Linked DNA regions of Homo sapiens: region 2 is linked to region 1. The links are contacts of gene promoters, found by promoter capture Hi-C in human tissues and cell types (Jung and others, 2019). All regions are on one chromosome and are shown on one strand. The core of a region is centred on a gene start or on the middle of the fragment in contact, and the rest is flanking DNA. Distances in the headings are between cores, read along the strand shown. Region 1 holds the start of FAM124A (family with sequence similarity 124 member A). Region 2 has its middle 30 kb from the start of SERPINE3.

Region 1 (6,804 bases), core at 2,794-5,293:
TGTATTTACACCAAAGAGAAACCCCATCTTGCCTGCCCTTCTAATTGCAGGAGGGGATGTCCTGCCTCCTACCTAAAGCCATCCATCCCCCTGTGGTATGAAGTCCATCTGCCTCCACTTTTTCAGAATGCTGACACTATAGGGCCAGAAGCAGTGGCTCACAACTATAATCCTAGTGCTTTGGGAGGCCAAGGTGGAAGGACTGCTTGAGGCCAGGAGTTTAAGACAGTTTCTGAGCAACATAGCAGGACCTTGTGTTTATAAAAATAAAAAAATTAGCTGGGCATGGTGTCGGTGGTGCGGGCCTGTAATCCCAGCTACTTAGGAGGCTGAGGTGGGAGGATTACTTGAGCCTTGGAATTTGAGGTTGCAGTGAGCCATGATTCCACCAATGCACTCCAGCCTGGGTGACAGAGAGACCTGTCTGTTAAAAAAAAAAAAAAAAAAAAAAAAAAAAAAAAAAAGAAAGCAAGCAAGCAACATTACAGATTATCATCTTTTCTCCTCCTTCTCCTTCCCCCTTCTATAGAATCCTTTCTATCACACTGATTGCTCAATTAGCACCTATATTTAAGAAATCTTTCTTCACTCCACTCTCCCCTTTAGCTACTGCCTCTTTTTGCCTCTCCTTTTTCCAGACAAAGGAATCCACCTGTCTCCTTTTCTTCACCTTCTACTGCCTTCTAGAGCCACTCTAATCTGGCTCCTGCCTCCACCACCCCGCTGTGAAATACCACTCTTCCTTCACTTCATCATCTCCATTTAAAAAAGACATTTAGCGTTCCTCATCTTCATTAGTTTCTCAGTAGCATAGTTGATCTCTCCTTCCTTTCTCAAAAACTCAAACCTCCCTTGGCTTCAATGATTCATATTCTTCTTTCTTTGACTCCAAGTCTACTCTTTCTCAGGCTCCTTTATCAGCTCATTCTCATTGACTGGGCGTTTAAATATAGTTTCTCAAGGCTGGTCTTAAAAAGCACCTGCTGCACAGAGTTGTTGAAGGATTCGAGGAGTCCATGAAATACATAAAGGCTTAGAACAGTAGGTGGCACATACTAAATGCTAAGAAAGTGCTTGCTATTACCTTCAGTTGATTTAGTCTCTCCCAGAGCTTCCATTGCCATTTTTAGGTAAATAGTACCCAAATGCAATGTCATCATGAAGACCTCCCTTCTGAGTTCCAGACAGATATACCCAACTGCTGATTCATCATCTTTACTTGGATGTCTTGCAACACCTCAGACACAGTGTGTTGAAAATGAAATGTCTCATATCTTGCCCAAACTTGGTTTGGAATAGATCACCAGCTACTTTGAGAATCTGATAAAAAAAAAAAGTTCTCTTCTCATACAAATTCACAAAGCACATCATTTTGCATACAACTTGAAGGAATTCATGGACCCCAAATTAAGGATCACTGCCTTAGCAGATGTGTCACTTGAGCTGAGTCCTGAAAGAAGAGTAGAGTTTCACCTGGCAGACAGGCAAGTCAGGTGGGAAGGGCAGAGCTGGCAAAGAGGGCAGCTTGACAAAGGCGAGGAAACAGAAAAATACAAGGCGCAAAGAAGGACCTGCTGAGAAACAAGGCCAGGGAGGGAAGAAGGGACTCCATAACAGGAGTCAGGGCATATAGGCCACGTTAAATTCCTTGCATTTGTAGATAACAGAGCCATAAAAGTTTGAAAGGGAGAGACATGATCAGATTTGCATTTTAAAAATACTAACGATAGCAAACACTTGTTGTCTTCTATGTGCTTTCTACATAATCTCTGTGAAAGCTGGATAGGGTAAGGGGTGGGGGCAAGCTCTGGAAAAGCAGGGAAACGATGAACAGCTTTTTGATAACTGAAATTCAAGGGCTCTGTGAATATATGGCAAACACAAAACTAATTAGCATACATTGAAATGCATGCTATTTTACCTTTAGCTTAAGGATACTAGTGATACAGTAAGAATTCCTTTTTTTTTGGAGATGGAGTTTTGCTCTTGTTGCCCATGCTGGAGTGCAATGGCGTGATCTCAGCTCATGGCAACCTCCGCCTCCCGGGTTCAAGCGATTCTCCTGCCTCAGCCTCCCGAGTAGCTGGGATTACAGGCATGCGCCACCACACCTGGCTAATTCTGTATATTTTTTAGTAGGGATGAGGTTTCTCCATGTTGGCCAGGCTGGTCTCAAACTCCCGACCTCAGGTGATCCGCCCACCTCGGCCACCCAAAGTGCTGGGATTATAGGCGCGAGCTACCGCACCTGGCCAAGAATTCTTTAAACAATTCTGTCCTGTTACAACTACACATTTTAGTGACAGAGGCTGAGAACAGAAGCTCTGGTGTCAGCAGGAGTGGGGAGCCCCTCCCAGGAGGCCTGGCCGCTGTCATGCTGATGTCCAGATCCTGGGGCGATGTCACCCCCTGGGTCCAGGACTTCCTCTCCCTTCTCTAAGACAGAGCCCTTGAAAAAAATATCAGTTTTAGGTGAGTTCTGCAAATTGAAAATGAATAGACTAGTGAATGCTTTATTTAACGCAGTTACAAATAAGCTGGTTAATTTTGCTTTGTTTCTTCTATTCATGGTCCAGCTAACTAATGGCAGAAAAAAAAAGCCAATAATCTTGTTAAAGTTGATAAATGCCACTTACACAAAGAGTGGGAAGAAGAAAGGAAGTTTGGCATTTAGCATCAGGTTACTCCACCAGATTATAATTGGGTGCTGTAGAGAGCTATGAATAAGTTTGGATAACAGAGAAAGCCCATTGCTGGGTGAATGCCCTAGGGAGTAAAGTCCCGCATTTGGGCTAGGAGTGGTGGGGCAGGAGGGGCCCTGTGGGGAGCTTTGCCGGGGTTGGGTTAGAACTCTGGGTCGATCGTGGGCCTGGATTCTCTACCTGCCCTCACAGGGTTGCCAAATCCTGAGATTAGTCTAAAACCTCTCCGACCTTCCAGGAATGAGGCTTTCTGTAGTCTAGGCAGCTCCCGCCCTCCCCCAGGATTACTCCAGATAGGAAAAAACACCCTTTCCTCCTGGGTCAGTACCCGCGGCCTGGATGTGGTGCTGACTCTGCACAGGAAAGTCCTTTAGAGACAGAGGCTGCCTGGAAGCCTTTATAACGACATTCATCTCCTAAAAGGCATTTTGTCTTTTCTTCCGCTCAGGAAAACAGTGTTTGGAGACTAACTAATTAGTCTCCAAAGGTTTGAGCCCATTGTTTGAGTCCGCTGAAGCGAAGAGAATATTAAAAAAAAAAAAAGGCAGGGCTAGATCCTAATCCCAACACCATCTCCATCCCGCCGGTACAACAGGCCAAAGGGTCCAGCTGGGACAGGTGCACTTAGAGGTGAGGAAGTTCGGCGGGACTGGAGGAGTCGGGGAGGGGGACTCGGCAGCACAGATTAAAGTCCCACGATGAAGCCATATAACGAGAAATGCCATCCTCCTAGCCGACTTCGGAAAGACTTTTAGGTGCGGGTGTCCCACCCTGCTTTTCTTCCTCTCCCGATCTCCAGGGCCGGACTCCAGGGGGCTCCGGAGCTACAGGAGGAAAGTCCCCGAGGAAGGAGGAAACAAGTGCAAGAGCATCTCCTGTCTCTAGCGATGCAGACAAGGGGTCTTTGCATCCGCCTGGCGCTCTGCATCGCCTCACAGGATGGGTGGGCTTGCACTGAACCTTGAGTCCTTCCACTTTCCTCCCCCCGGGTGGTGCCCGCCCTGCCCAGGGCAGCGCGGCCCGCCCAGGAGAGAGCGGGGGATCCGGCAGGAGGAGAAGCCCCGCGCCCCGGTCCCGTCGCACGGATCAGGAGGGTCCCCGTCCGGGGAGGAGCCGCCGCGCAACTCGGAGAGCGCCCCCCGCCCGCGGCCCGGCCCGGCGCGGCTCACCCTCCGGTCTCGGCGCCCGAGTCCACGCAGTCGTCCTCCTCGCCGCCGCCGCCCGCCTTTGGGTCCATGGTGCACGTCCCGGCCGCGCTCGGCTTGCGGGCGCCGTCGTGACCCGGGGCGCCCTCCCTCCCGGCCGCCCAGTCCGAGCCGGCCGGGCTCCCTCCGAGCGTCTGGCGGCCCGGGAGCCGGCAAACAACTCAAGCGCCAGCCGCGAACCCCGCGCCGCGCCCTCTCCCGACCGCGCCCGGCTGGGCACCCGCGCCTGCGCCCGCGCCCGCCCCGCCCCTCGCCGTCCGGCGGGACCCGCGTGTGCGCGCGGCGGTGCGCGGGGAGTGCGCGTGCGAGCGCGTGTGCGAGCGCGTGGGGGGCGTGTGAGCGTGAGTGGCCGAGGTGTGTGGTCTCACACCCGTGCGTCTGTGCATGCGGTGTGATGTGGGTGCGGTGTGCACTCCTGGTTGCACGCGACTGTGGCTGTGCTGAGCGCGTGTGCCCGTCTGTGGTGCGTGACCGCGTGTGTGTTGTGGGGGCGGGGTAAGTGTGCACACGAGAGCCGCCTCTCTCCCCCAGGCCCACAGTCCGGGAATCCCGAGCCCCAGGGCTTGCCACGAGGTTCCCCACCTCCTGATCTGGGAGGAGCACTGAGAAAACCAACCTCAGCGCATCGTGAAAGCTGGGAAGGATTTGTTTCCCTTTTGGGACCAATTCGAACACCTGGGTGTTTTCTTATAGTTTCTGAAGAATTGCTGACGCCAAATTCATTATCACCTTTCTCAGTACACGTCTGAGCGGCATCCCACCCCCTCAACTTGCCAGTTTACAATAGGTGTCATGCATTCTTTTGCTACTTAAAAAAAAAAAAGCCTTTAAAAATAATTTAAAGAGCATTGAATGAACCTGCAATTCACGGGTTGTTGCAGCAAGGGGATAACCTTAGGGTGAGTTAATGATCGCTATTGGAGGGGCTCACCTCCTATTAGGAGGGTGAAGAGGGAGGCAAGTTGGCAGGGCGGGCGGAAGGAGACTTCGAACAACTTGAATTTAGTTCTGACAGCCCTATCCAAACCATTGGGAGGAATTGTCCTTACTGAGCCTAAAATTTCTTGCACCCCAAACAGCAATGGACATATTGGTGGGCATTAGCTGAAAGAAAGGAGCGTGCCAGTTCTTCAAGGGAGATTCCCCTGCCCATTTTTTATCTTGCAGCCAGGAGGGAACCTGCCTTTATTTACTCTGTGTGGGAACAATTCAAACTGTGCCTCATTTGATCCTCAGGGAAGTGCTGTGAAACAGGCTTACTTTTCTATTTTACCGTCAAGGAAACTAAACCCTACCGAGTTCGAGTGCCTGGTCCCAGGACACCCTATCAGTGAGCAGGGAAGCCAGGTAGTCCACTTAAGGTAGCTGGAGCCTGTGCCACTTACCTAGAAGGCTGATGAGTGGGCCAGTTGTATCCTCAGGAAGATGGTACTAAGGAAAAGGCCAGGGAAGAAAGGGTGAAATCAGCATGACTTTTAGAAGATGGGCTTTGGAAAATGAGATGCTATTTAAATGATTTCTGCCTTTCTCAAATATCCAGAGAAAGGGCATGCCAGACCAAAACCTCAAGCCACATCTCAAAATGATGCATGGATTCAGGTTCCCCTCGCCCACAGGGGACACAGTGTTATCATTCATCATTGGCATAGCAGTCTAATGGCAACTCAGTGATGCATTTATTATATGGAAGAGAAGCTTGAACGGTATCACTGTATTCTAGTGATGCATGGCTTTCTGCTTCAGTTCCCAGGTTTTAAAAGCCTCACTTCATTTTTTGCTTGTTTGTTTGAGACAGGGTCTTACTCTGTTGCCCAGGCTAGAGTACAGTGGCACAATCACAGCTCACTACAGCCTCCACCTCCCTGATTCAAGTGATCCTCCCAGCCTCCTGAGTAGCTGGGACTACAGGCGTGCCACCATGCCCAGCTGAGTTTTAATTTTTTTGTAGAGAAAAATATGTTGCCTAGGCTGGTCTCGAACTCCTGGCCTCAAGTGATCCTCCTGCCTCGGCCTCTCAAAGTGCTGGGACTATAGGCATGAGGCATTGCACCTGGCCCATTTTTTGGGAGGGCGGGGTATAAGAGTTGCTGGCAGGTAACCAGCACAAGAACCTTCAAGTGATCACTGCAGGGTATCTAGCCCCTAAACTTACATGGTTCCCACACTCCATAGTCCAGCTGTTTAATGTCAGTCTCTTTAATCATGGGGGTACGATGCTCTCCTCCACCCCTTTAAGATGGGGACAGAAAAGTGTCACTGGTCTGCTTAGGGTGTCTTGACTGCTGCCCTAAAGATATTCCTATCAGAGCCTGAGAACAGTGTTGGGGGAATACTGAGGTATGGCAGGAAGTGTAACAGGCTAGGAAACATGAAACCTGACTTCTGGATCGGAATCCATCATGTACTAGTTCTTTAAACTCTCGATAGAGAAAAAGGATAGACCATCAACTGTTTCCAAAGTTCTTACTACATGTCAGTCTTTGTGGTAAGGATTTTACATACATGATTTATTTAAATCTCACAAAATTCTTGTGAGGCTTCCTTTGTCCTTAAAATGGGGTTGTTGATATAAATCTCACAGGAGATTCAAAGCCCCTTAGAAACTACGAAGCATATGAATAAAAGATATTGCTGATTTTTTAATCACTTTTTCTCAGAAAGGTCTGAACATCAATCTTTTGTTGTATTTCACCTATAAAGCATGTTTCAGTCTCTGTTTATATTATTGCATGTGTTGGTGTGTTAGAAAACAAGGCAGTTCATTCATTTATTTATTGAACACTCAGTGTGTACTAGGCAGGGGCTGGTGCTGGGGATATGTTGAGGAATAGGCCAGAGCTATTTTCTGGCCTAATGGAGCTTTTTGGGTCAAGAGAAGGCAAGGCCAATGGGCATGG
Region 2 (6,804 bases), core at 1,701-4,200, 87 kb before region 1:
TGAGACAATGTATTTTCAAATGCCCAGCAATACCTGACAGAGTAGATGCTCCATAAATATTATTATTTTCTGTCTTTCTTTGCAAAAAATGATAGCATTAATTTTTTTCCCTTTTACTCACATAATTCAGCAGTTCTAAGGTGGTGTATCAGTTTGACTCCTTGGAGACGCATATGCTAAGATGAAGTTAGACGTGCAAGAGATTCACTGGGGGAAGTATCTGGGATGAACAAAGGAAAGAAGGGGCAGGAGGTGGCGCAGAGAGCCATCAGACTATAATACTGGCCTGACACCTGGGAGAGGAGAAAGGGAAGGAGAAAAGATTGGGTAGGGAGAGCTTGAGAGTTTGCAGCTGTGAGAAAGTCTTGGGTAACAATGGGGAGCTCCAGAGCAAAGACTGCTTGTTAGAGGATCCTGCATTGGGCAGGAATGTTCTGGCTCTAAAATCCCACTGTGCCCAGTCATTGTCTGGGAGCAGCCCAGGGAGAGCATGGCCTTGTGTGAGCTGCTTTGTATCCCGAAGGGGCAGCAGCTGACAGCCAGCTATACTGCCTGCAACAAGTTCTCTCTGCAAGGGAGAGTTGAACCATGCGTTCCTGTAGTTGCCAGGAATATAAGGGAAACTTTTTTTCTCCAAATGCACAGAAGAACAACACTAACCTCTACTATTATTTTTTATTTTTTTGAGACAGAGTACCACTCTGTCGCCCAGGCTGGAGTGCAGTGGTGCAATCTCAGCTCACTGCAACCTCCACCTCCCTGGTTCAAGCAATTCTCCTGTCTCAGCCTCCCGAGTAGCTGGGATTACAGGCACATGCCACCATGCCCGGCTAATTTTTGTATTTTTAGTAGAGATGGGGTTTCACCATATTGATCGGGCTGGTCTCAAACTCCCGACCTCAGGTGATCCACCCACCTCAGCCTCCCAAAGTGCTGGGATTACAGGCATGAGCCACTGCACCTGGCCGACTTCTACTATTATTGTCTGTTGAGGTTTTCATACAGATTTCAGCTTATAGCTAAAAACCAAACTTTCAATAAGTGAACAAAAAAAGCCCCGCTAGGACAGATTGGGTTTTGTGACATAGCCAGCAGGTGGAAAAGCCTCCCATGTAATGAAAACCAAAGCAGCACGGCAGCTGTGCAGCCTTGAGAATTCAGGAGCTGTGTGGCATATGCTGGGTTAATTTCAAGCCCTCCAAATGAGATTGCAAAGTGTGTCACTCAGCAGAGGTTCCATCACTGAGTGAATAAAGTCTTATAATTAATTCTCCACTTTTAAGATGTAAAATGAGAAGTTCACTGAGGCCTTGAGCATGTTGGGAGAATGACAGCACTTGAGGATTAGCAAGCAGACTGAGGCTTAGGAAGATTTTTGGGGAAAACCTATTTTTGTTTTCCATGCCCTGAAGAGACAATGGTTTAAAGGGGAGTTAATGGGGGATTTAGAGAAAGGGCTTTGTTTCCAGAGTTTTCATTGGCTCAGGTTACTGGGCTGATCTGGATGTCAGTGTCTTTAGTATAAAAAACCCTGTATAATATAAAAATCACCCTGCTCTGTTAGTTCTAATCTTTATGTGGGAGACTGACAAGTTCACATTTTAAATTGATAGTGAATACATGGTATGGGTCCAAGTTTTGTGGGGCCTGAAGTTTAAATAATTTGGGGTGTACTTTATAGAAAAAAGAATAGAAAATATTAAAACAAATTAGATAGGAAAATAAATACTTAGAATAAGAAAAGAAATCACAACAAATTACAGATTGGAAATATCTAACAAGTAGCATAATATACAAAATCCAGAAAAACATGATATTTTAATAAGCTAAGTACCTGACAAACTTCCCTAATACTTTTAGCTTCAATTTTTTGACTGCATACTTGTTATCCATTTTAAATTTTAATTTTATTTTCTTTCTTTTCTTTTTTCTTTTTTTGAGATGGAGTCTTGCTCTGTCCCCCAGGCTGGAGTGTGATGGCATAATCTCAACTCACTGCAACCTCCACCTCCTGGGTTCAAGCGATTCTCCTGCCTCAGCCTCCCTGAGTAGCTGGGACTACAGGTGTGCACCACCACGCCTGGCTAATTTTTTTTGTATTTTTGGTAGAGATGGGTTTTCGCTATTGGTCTCAAACTCCTGACCTCCAGTGATCCACCCTCCTCAACCTCCCAAAGTGCTGGGATTACAGGTGTGAGCCACCGGACCCAGCGTTATCCATTTTTTTTATAACGATAATTTTGTAATATCATTTTCTGTAGAGAGATTAGAAAGATAATTCAGACTTTCCTCTAGCATGGTTGACCAAAAGAAATTTTAATTGACAGTCAGGATGTATAAAATATGTGACTTCATCTACTGAAGTACAAACTATTTGTATTATTAGCTATAGATTTATGTGTTACAGACAAAGGAATTCTAATGAATTATCTTCCATGTAATTCCCATAGGAAAAAAAATGCATGGTATGTTTATATTTGTATATATTTTATTACTGAGTATATTCCTAATGAGAAAACTTCTAGTTTGACTCAGCATCTGTGGAGAGCTGTCTAAAATAAAATTAGATCAAGTTAGAAAAAATTTTAAAGTTTATTGTCATACAAAAAGTATAGATCTTGATCCGGGAGACTTCAAACCAAGTAGTAAGAAGTTTGCCTTGGCTGGGCGCGGTGGCTCATGCCTGTAATTCTGGCACTTTGGGAGGCCAAGATGGGCGGATCACCTGAGGTCAGGAGTTCGAGAACAGCCTAGCCAATATGGTGAAACCCTGTCTCTACTAAATATACAAAAATTAGCCAGGCATGGTGGCACATGCCTGTAATCTCAGCTACTCAGGAGGCTGAGGCAGGAGAATCTCTTGAACCCAAGAGGCAGAGGTTGCAGTGAGCCGAGATTGCACCACTATACTCCAGCCTGGGCAATAGAGCAAGACTCTGTCTCAGAAAAAAAAGAAGCTTGCCTTACAACATTTACAATATAGTTTGTAAAGCATAGGGAGGATGTATTTTGACCTTTTTTTGTGATTTGCTGTTATACATTACCTTTATTTAGGGCAAAGAGAGCTGTTTAAACTGATTTGTCTGTAGCTGATTAGTTTCATTTCACTGAAACATATTGACAAGGATGTAAAATTTACATGTTGTGTTTACGATTAGAATTAGCGTTTCAAGGAAATTGGAATGACATGTTTTGGTTGCATGGTTATGGGCCACTGGACTTGGGGTATATCTCAACTGTGGGCTTTTATTTTTAACAGAACTGAATCTGCTCACAGTTTTACATGTGTTAGGATTGGAAGGATTTTCCCCAGACAAGCTTCTGATCTTAGACATTTCGAACCTTGTTTCTCTTCCACCACCCAAGTGTTTGCAATGCCCAGTAATGGTGCCAGAGGACACTCCCTGAGGCCAGTGTGACTCCCCTGCGCTGCATCTTCACAGGGGAAGCTGAGTGCACGGCCTGACGGGCTCTCCTGGAAGCCATTCTTAGCACTGTGACCCCAACCACGATTTAACTATGCATGGAAAAGACTACAGAAGGCTGCAGAAGTGTGTCTCCTAGACCCAAATTAAGAGAAGCCTCAGCTTAACTCCCCCTTAGTGGGATCACTAAAAGGCTTGCAGACTCACCGCTTTCCAATTAGGGGAAGTGAATGAAGGGAAATTAAAAGAGATATGAGTGTTAACAACTCATGGTTAAAATATCTTACTTTTGCAAATTTACCAAAGTATCTGACCACAAGAAAAAGTCTGTGCATGTGAGAGATCTTTCTCAGTAAATCCACCTCTAGTGAAGAACCACGGGAAATTGCTCCACGTAAGTGGGAGATGTCTGTATTTTGAAATGAGACTAAGGTCTGCAACACTGATGGGCAGGCTGTTCCCTCTTCATTCAAAATGTTCCTGAAAACTTGCTAAAAGGTTGACTGTGAGAAAATGAAAGAGCAGACTTAGGAGATCCATGGGCAGAGGAGGTGCTCTGATTTTAGAGGGCTCAAAATAGCAAAATCCCAAATAGTTATTCTCTTTTAGGCACAATTTTTAATATATTTTTAGAAAAGGTATTCATAAGGTTGCAAAACTTGAAAGGCACAAAATAACGTACATTGAAAAGACTCTGTGTCAAAGCTCTGTCCCCAACACCTAGCTCTATTACCCCAAGAGTACTGGTTTCTTGTGTTTCAGTTCTTTTCATGAAAACAACTATGGATATACATGATCATATTCATATTTACATTTAAATTTTTTACTATATATGCATGTGTGTTATGGCATTTTTTCCCTTAAAAATGCAAGAAATTGTTTCTCTTCATAAAAAATCTTTCTTATTCTTTTTAATAGCTGCATATAGCTAGTACCCTATTAATGGACATTTCATCCGTATGTGATGTTTCTTAGTATAAATAATGCTTAAATGCATGCATCATTTCTCCTACGTACAAGTATGCTTATAGAATAAATTCCTTGAATTGGAATTGATACATAAATGGTACTTGTGACTTTTACTAGATATTGCTAAGCTGGCATCCACAGAGGTTGTACTAGTACATTTTGACCTGTAGTGTGTGACAGTGCTTCCTTCCTTACATCCTTACCAACAAAGTCTGTCTTAGAACTTTTGATCTCACTGCAACCTCTGCCTCTTAGGTTCAAGTGATTCTCCTGCCTCATCCTCCCCAGTAGCTGGGATTACAGGCACCTGCCACCATGCCCGGCTAATTTTTTGTATTTTTAGTAGAGACGGGGTTTCACTATGTTGGCCAGGCTGGTCTCGAACTCCTGACTTCAGGTGATCCACCCGCCTTGGCCTCCCAAATTGTTAGGATTACAGGCATGAGCCACGCAACATAAGTGAAACTCCATCTCAAAAACAAACCAAACCAAACCAAACCAAAACAAAAAAAAACCCTTCTGATCTTTTCCAGTCTGAAAGATAAAAAATGGCATCTAAGTGTGGTTTTTCACGTGCATTGTTTTCATTATAAATGCATCTCTCTGACTCTGCTTTCATTGCTGCATCCCTCACTCTCTTCTTCCTCCTTCTGCCACTTTTAAGGACACTTCTGATTGCGTTGGGCTCTTGCCAATTTTACGGTCAGCTGATTAGCAACATTCATTTCATCTGCAATTTGGCACCTTTTCATGTTTCATTGTTTTGTTTATCTGTGGGCTGCCTATTATTCTTTTACTCTATCATTTTTTGTTATTGATTTGTAGGAGTTCTTTGTATATTAGAAAAATGAGTCATTTGTTTGAGATATGAATTACATGTGCTCGGGCCTAGGGGTATAGTTTGGGGTAGAGCATTTGCCTGCAGATCAAGAATCACATGTGCTCCCCTATTGCCCCTCTCCCAAAGTTGTCATGTGGATTTGACTTTACTTGTGATGATTCTTGTCTTGAAAATACTAAAATCTTAAATTTTATATCACAGAATTTATCTGCTTTTTATTCTTGGTTTTAGGTTTTTTGTGTCATACTTGGGCCTTTCTTGCTCTGGGTTAAAAATAATTCTCCTGTGATTTCTTCTGCTTTTATGGTTTCATTTTAAATTTTACATTTAAATATTTGTACCACTTGTAGTTTATTTTGGTGTAAGATATGATGTTTGGCTCTATTTTTTTTTTTCAGATGACCACCCAGTTAATCCAACATTATCTTTTCCACATTGATTTAAAATTCTATCTTTATTATTATATAATATTTTCCTCCATGTATCTGATTTTATTTCAGTTCAGTGTCTTTGGTCTATTGTTCATGTATTAGAATCATACTGTTTAGTAGCTTTATGTTTAAATACCCGGTAGGGACAGTTCCACTTCATTATTTTCCTGGCTATTCTTATTTGTTTTTCCACAGAAACTTTAGAATCAACTTGTTCACTTAAAAAGTTCCAATTGGAGGCCAGGCACGGTGGCTCACGCCTGTAATCCCAGCACTTTGGAACGCCAAGGCGGGCAGATCACAAGGTCAGGAGATCGAGACCATCCTGGCTAACATGGTGAAACCCCATCTCTACTAAAAATACAAAAAGTTAGCCGGGCCTGATGGTGGGCGCCTGTAGTCCCAGCTACTCGGGAGGCTGAGGCAGAAGAATGGCGTGAATCCGGGACGCGGAGCTTGCAGTGAGCCGAGATCACGCCACTGCACTCCAGCCTGGGCAACAGAGCGAGACTCTGTCTCAAAAAAAAAAGAAAAAAAAAAGTTCCAATTGGAATTTACTTGGAACCATGCTAAATGTGTTGACCAACTTAAGGAGAACTGATGATATCTTTATGATGCAGAGACTTCCTATCTAAGAACATAGCAGGCTTTTCATTTTCTCCAAGTCCTTTTTCCTGTCTTGAATTTTCCTATTATAAACAAGTTTTCAATGTAGGTGTAATTTCTCATATGTGCACGTGCCCATAGGATAAATGCTTTGAATTGTTGGTGATTTAAGTGGTAATTTAAACATATCTTGTAAATTTTTGGTTAAGCTTATTCCTAGGGATTTTTTTATTATTGCCATTGTAAATAGGGTCATTTCTTCTATTTTTCCTTCTAATTATTGGTTGGTTGTATACATAAAGGCTACTGATTTCTATACATTAAAATAGTAGCCAACTCCCTTACTGAATTCTTTTTGTTTATAATAGTTTTTCACTTGGCTCTCTTAGTTTTTTCATGTGAACCAATCTTATAATTCAAAGAATTATAATTGTATCTTCTTTTGTTCAATTTTTATTCTTCAGTTTCCTTCTACTGATTGCATTGGCTAGTACCCAAGAATGATGTTAAATAATTGAAGGGGGCGGAGGTA

Evidence for each region. The method cuts DNA at HindIII sites, captures the fragments that hold promoters and counts their contacts. A contact is called where the count stands out against the background at its distance.
Region 2: a contact is called between a fragment that was not itself captured here and the fragment with the promoter of FAM124A in region 1, in 2 of the 25 tissues and cell types used here (adrenal gland and hippocampus).

The regions. Positions count from the first base shown.
Region 1 is chr13:51,219,637-51,226,440 of GRCh38, reverse strand. It overlaps FAM124A (family with sequence similarity 124 member A), which reads right to left and starts at 4,043. Exons shown (of 4, transcript NM_001242312.2): 1 at 3,872-4,043. The coding sequence starts at 3,939. RefSeq lists silencers at 4,095-4,154, 4,275-4,324 and an enhancer at 4,105-4,895. The HindIII fragment of the contact is 11,319 bases long and covers 1-6,749 here.
Region 2 is chr13:51,305,814-51,312,617 of GRCh38, reverse strand. No RefSeq gene overlaps it. Among named protein-coding and RNA genes, the nearest start is that of SERPINE3, 30 kb to the left of the region's middle. The HindIII fragment of the contact is 3,900 bases long and covers 1,001-4,900 here.